Linked DNA regions of Homo sapiens: region 1 is linked to region 2. The links are contacts of gene promoters, found by promoter capture Hi-C in blood cells and fetal thymus (Javierre and others, 2016). All regions are on one chromosome and are shown on one strand. Each heading gives the region's core, a stretch centred on a gene start or on the middle of the fragment in contact. The rest is flanking DNA. Distances are from core to core; before and after follow the strand shown. Region 1 overlaps MTUS1 (microtubule associated scaffold protein 1). Region 2 holds the start of SLC7A2 (solute carrier family 7 member 2).

Region 1 (2,751 bases), core at 209-2,708, 210 kb before region 2:
ACTTAAGACTAACCTGGTATTATGAGGAGCCTAGTGAGGAAAAGTTACTGTGTGGACAGAGGACCACAACAAAGTGTGTTTGCTTTGGAAAGACGACTTTGATGCTGAAAAATGATGCTGAAAAGCCAGTGACTTTGGGTGGATCATTGAACCTCTTTGATAATAGTTTTCTATGTAACTGAAAGGGTGGATTTCTAGATTTCTCCCTACTGTGATATTCTGTGACTGAAAATCACCTTGACTTTTTTCATATTCTGCTGGAAATGAGTCATATTTTAGCTGATACAGAAGACATTGCCTCCACACATAAACATGTTCCTCTGAGTGTAAATTTTTAATCGTTGTACTATGGCTTTGAGATATTTTTATTTTAAAGCTGTAAGTAGTGGTGGAGATTACAGTTGAGTTGACCAACTTCATATTCCTTAGTTCTAGTAAAATAATCACTTTTAATTATAGCAGTTTGCCAAACTTCAAAAAGTTTAGCATGTAGTTTAGAAATCACCCTTCAGCTTTTTAAAATTTGTCGTTTTAAATGAAATTTAGATAAGTGTATATCCTGCTTTGTCATTTAACATATAGTAATCACTTTTACATTTAGCAGATACAGTAACATTTAACTACTTTTGAATATTTAGGGTGCTTCTGTATCACATTCATAAATGATTCTATGATGAACATCTATACAATTAGCACTTTCAACTTTCAATTTCTTGTGATAGATTATTAAAAGTAGTATCAGGAAATCACAATATGTACCCATTTACAGTCACTTCACTCAAATAGCCAAATTGTTTTCCAAAAGCTTCATATCATTTTATACCGTGGTTGACATAAAAGACACCTGGCTTCATCATACCTTGGGTCAACATTGGATATTATTTTTAAATTTTTTTGACTAACATAATAGTTTAAAATGTTACATCATTGTTTTAGCTTGACCTTTATCAATTAAAGAAATTACATTATCTCATAAGACAATGTAGAAAAGCAGGAGGAGAACGAACTTTTAAGGCACGGGATGTTGGTTTAAACCTTCGTCCTGCTGCTTTCTATTTGTGTCCTGACCTTGGGCTAGTTGCTAAGCCTCTCCAAGTCTCAAATTTCTCGTTTGGAGACATGGGAATATTGGGGAAATAATTCCCAGAAAGGCAATAATATGACATCATAGAATTGTTTTATAAAAGGTTCTCAAATAATAGTTAAGTCAGCTGCTAGGAACGGTAATGATGGCGATCTTTTACATTGTTTTTATAATTCTAGGGGCTTATTTTTAGGGTTCTTTTCCAGGAAGTTGAATTATTTTAAATCTCTAAAGCAAGCAGGAAAGACTGCTTAAAGTCAAGAACCAACCTCTTGGGGTCTAACTGTTGTAATTTATTTAAACGTTATGACGCTGCAAGATTGTAGTTGATATTGACTCTAAAAAAAATCTTGGCTTACTGCTGATAAGGAAGATGTCACACATACCACAGAATACTATTATTACCTTGGTTCTACCATACACTAAAGCCACTGGCATACCAGAGGCATCAGAGCTGTATTTATCCAGTACCCTGATTGGTTTACACAAGATCATCACTCTCAGGTGCCAGAGTGTCTGCCTTGGAAGGTAGAAAATGCACTGGTCCTTCCGCAGTTACTTAGTAAAGACATCACAGGAGAACAGGGCGGCTTTCTTGCCTTCTTTTGCCAAGTGCTGGGAAGTGGTTGCAAGTTGCAAACCTGCTGATGAGGTGATGCCGAGGCTGCCAGGGTTTCTTCTGGTGAGAGTAGAGAGAAGGCTGTTTTTTCACTGTTGTTTTATGATTAACATAACTTTCCCCCTATACTTAAAACACAGATGCTCTTTTCATATGGGATACATTTTTGTTTCAAATTGGTGTTGGGGGTTGTGAGGAGTGGATCATTTAGTAAATCTTCTTGAGACAGTGACTACCTTTTTAGCAGGAGCTAGATCTTTTTCACATATATACAAAGTATTTCAGATAAATTAGTTTTAAACACACAAAGTAATTAAAACACTAAGAATATAGACTTAAGTAGAAAAGATCTTTCCAGGAACACTAGTATAATAGAAACGATTAATAATTAGGACAACAAAAGCTTTAAAAAACCTTAGAAACAGGCTGTGCATGGTGGCTCACGCCTGTAATCCCAACACTTTGGGGGGCCAAGACAGGTGGATTGCTTGAGGCCAGGAGTTCAAGACCAGCTTGGGCAACGTACTGAGACCCCATCTCTACCAAAAATACAAAAAAATTAGCTGCACGTGGTTGTGCACACTTGTAGTCCCAGCACTCATGAGGCTGAGGCAGAAGAATCGTTGAACCCAGGAGGCAGAGGTTGCAGTGAGCTGAGATTGCACCACCGCACTCCAGCCTGGGTGACAGAGCAAGACTCCGTCTCAAAAAAAATAAAAAGAATAAAAATCATTAGAAACAGTATTTATAAGCAAAGAACAAACTGAGGTTATATTAGCACATACTCTGTGTAGAGCTCTGTCAAATCAGCAAGATAAAGACAACTCTATAATAGAAGCTAAATGGACATACCACCCAAAGAGATCTACAGATTCAGTGCAATCCCTATCAAAATCCCAGTGTCATTTTTTTAAAGAAATAGAAAAAACAATCCCAAAAGTCATATAGAATGACAGAGGACTGCAAATAGCCAAAACAATCTTGACAAAGAACAAAGCTGGAGGCATCACAGTTCCTGATTTTAAAGTATATTACAACACACAGTAAT
Region 2 (2,911 bases), core at 352-2,851:
TGCCTTAAGGTAAATGACCATTCCCAGATGAAGGCACAGAATGTAAACAAAGTGTGGGCCGAGGGAAGAAACTTGAAAAATCACAATAAAGTGGCCTCCCAGAGCAGGCAACTAGCAACTTTGTAGGAAAAGGAGAGGGAAGAAGTCCTGTGTTCTGCACTGAGAGATCATTTCATGTCACGCTTCAGTGCAATTAAAATAAAAAAGGATTTACTAATTACAAAGCAATCCTAACAAGGTACATAATACAGAATATTCACATCTTATACATCTCCTAGAGAAAGATTACAAACACAGAATGTTTCACCTTCCGGAGGAGATAATTATTAACTTTTAAAGACTAGCTCAGGCAAGAATGAAAAAGTATCAAGTCAAGGCCACATACATTCTAATTTTATAACCCAGGCGGCCCTGGATGGGATTCAGAGAGCTCTTATTTGAATAAGATCTGACGATATCCTCTCATTAAAAGGATTAGTGTTTCTGCACAAACGTCTAGATAAATCTTATTACTGGTCCAAAATTAGTCACCTAAAGGCTTTAGCCAGTTTTGCACAAATATTTACAACTCTGAAGAGGCTGAGTACTTTTTCTCTTGAAATCCAGGCACTATATCCACTTCAAAAGCCACATATGATTGTGGCTTTTGCTGAGCATATTTCTTTTCGACGAGTTGAAGATGACAATCTCTCAATACCTTACTCCATAGACTGGATGTAAGCGTCAAAAGAGGATGAAAAGGTACTTTCTGAACGGACAGGTACTCTGGGGTGATGGGTTGGGAGATTCTCTAAGCCTCAAGAACAGCGTTTCATGAAACGGGCTTATAAAATACAGCCCATCTCAAACGGATTTTAAAAGGCACCCAGTTACTTTAAAATACCCAATACAAACACCAAGACGGGCTATTTTACCAGGTCCCCTGCAGAATGTGAAGGGGCTTCCAGCGCTCCAAGCCGGCTTTCTAATTTAAGCCAAGAACCGAAAAGGAGCGAAGGCGGCTTCGGGGACCCCGGCAGCGTGCAGGGCCAGGAGGTTCAGCCTGCCCACCCGGAGAGGGGTGCGCCGAGCTCCTCTGGAAATAGTGACTGAAGGGTCCCCGCGAAGTCGCCGTGCCAGCCCCTCTCCCAGTTCCAGCGGTCCCCGAAGTCCCCGGGCAGAGCCGGCTGCACAGGGACCGGACGAGGCGAGGCGCATTCCGGGGCGCAGCCCCGAGGACGAAGGTCCACGGCTTCAGCCCCAGCCCACGGCCCCGACTCCCTGACGAAGACTCGCTGGAGCGCGGCCTCAGGGCAGCTGCGCGCAGCTGGACTCGTCCCCGGGAGCCCTCGACCCTCTAGTTCCCCGCCGGCCCCAGGGCGCCCTCGCCCCGCTCCTTCCCCGCCGGCCCCAGCGTCCGGGCTGCCCCTCGCCCGCGGCCTCTCGGCGGGGCTGGAGACCTAGCAACTTACTGGGGCTGGGTTGGGGTCGCGCCAAGAAGGCGGCGGTGGGCTGCCGGCTGCAGCGCGTCGGGGGCCCGCGGCTGGGGGACGCTGGAGCAGCGGCCGCCGCCTCGCTGGTCCCGCGAAGAGGAGCGCCCGCCGGCCGCGCTGCAGAAGGAGGGCTGGGCACGTGGGCGCCCCTCTGTGTAGCCACCCGGGGCGGGGGCGGGGCGCGGGGCCGGGCGGCACCGCCTCCTCCGCGCTCCCGGAACGCGACCCCGAGCCCGCCTCCCGCCGGGCCCCGGCCGCGCTGACCAATCCCCGGGGTGGGCGGTGTGCGGCCGCTGCTCAGCGGGGTTTGCCTGGAGCCGAGCACACGTGGGCGGGCGCTAGCCCCGGGCTAGGCCGGTGGGCGCGGGCCGGGGAAGAGAGGCTGCGCGCGAGGATAAACTTCGTGCTCTCCTGGGAGGACCAAACCTCAAGGGCATTTCCGAATCTTCTAAGCAGAGTTCTAAGTGGGGTTTTGGTCCCCCCGTTTACTTTCCATTCTACAAAGATTTTGGAAATAAGAAAATAATAATAAAATATAATAATAGCAATGATAAATGGAAGCCCAGGTGGATGTGCTTTGTCAAATGCAAACTAAACGTTGATAAATAATGTGCAGTTGCTATTTTGGAAGACTCCAGTGGTATGAATACGTAGTCACGATTGTTTGGGGGTGGGTTTATAGGAAATGACATTATTTCCAGGGGAGCAAGAGCAGAAGTTACACAATCAGGGTTTCTCCTACTGCGCTATTGTTTACTTTAGGAGTCTCTGATAAGATTAAGTCACAATGTGAAAGCCTGTTAATTTTCATCCAAAACGAAGCAAAACACGCACTGAATTGAACAATAAGTGTGTGTCAGTGTGTGTGTGTATATGTGTGTGTGGTTTGTCTTTAGAGACAGGGTCTCACTCTGTCGCCCAGGCTGGAGGGCAGTGACACAATCGTGGCTCACTGCAGCCTCGACCTCCTGGGCTCAAGCTATCCTCCCGCCTCAGCCTCCCAAAGTGCTGACAACTACAGGCTTGAGCCACCAGGCTGAGAATTACAGGCTTGAGCCACCATGCCCGGCCTATTACTATTTTTGTTTGACAGAAAGGTCCACTTTACTTTGCATAGTATTGGAGTAAACGTCCCTTTAACCCACCTACTAGTAATAACTTTGGCAAAGTGCCAGATTTGTATTGCTGCCTCACAGTACATATACAATTTTAATGTGATATTCTAAATCATTCTTCCCTTCAAGACATATATCCCCAAGATCATCTAATAAACGGTGTGGGGCTTCATTCCAGAAGATAGCACACACACAAAATCTCAATGTATCTCAGGAAGCCATCCATGGATTTCATCAAAAAGTGAAAGTGTAGGCTGGGGGTGGTGGCTCACGCCTGTAATCCCAGCACTTTGGGACGCCGAGGCGCGCCGATCACCTGAGGTC

What was found. Contacts are between HindIII fragments. The CHiCAGO score rates a contact against its expected background, and 5 or more counts as called.
Region 1: a contact is called between a fragment that was not itself captured here and the fragment with the promoter of SLC7A2 in region 2, in 1 of 17 cell types (endothelial precursors). The highest score is 6.0, in endothelial precursors.

What each region holds. Positions count from the first base shown.
Region 1 is chr8:17,704,660-17,707,410 of GRCh38, reverse strand. All of the region lies in intron 6 of MTUS1 (microtubule associated scaffold protein 1), which reads left to right. Among named protein-coding and RNA genes, the nearest start is that of MIR548V, 24 kb to the right of the region's middle. The HindIII fragment of the contact is 1,301 bases long and covers 808-2,108 here.
Region 2 is chr8:17,495,778-17,498,688 of GRCh38, reverse strand. It overlaps SLC7A2 (solute carrier family 7 member 2), which reads right to left and starts at 1,601. Exons shown (of 13, transcript NM_001370338.1): 1 at 1,452-1,601. The HindIII fragment of the contact is 8,504 bases long and covers 1-2,911 here.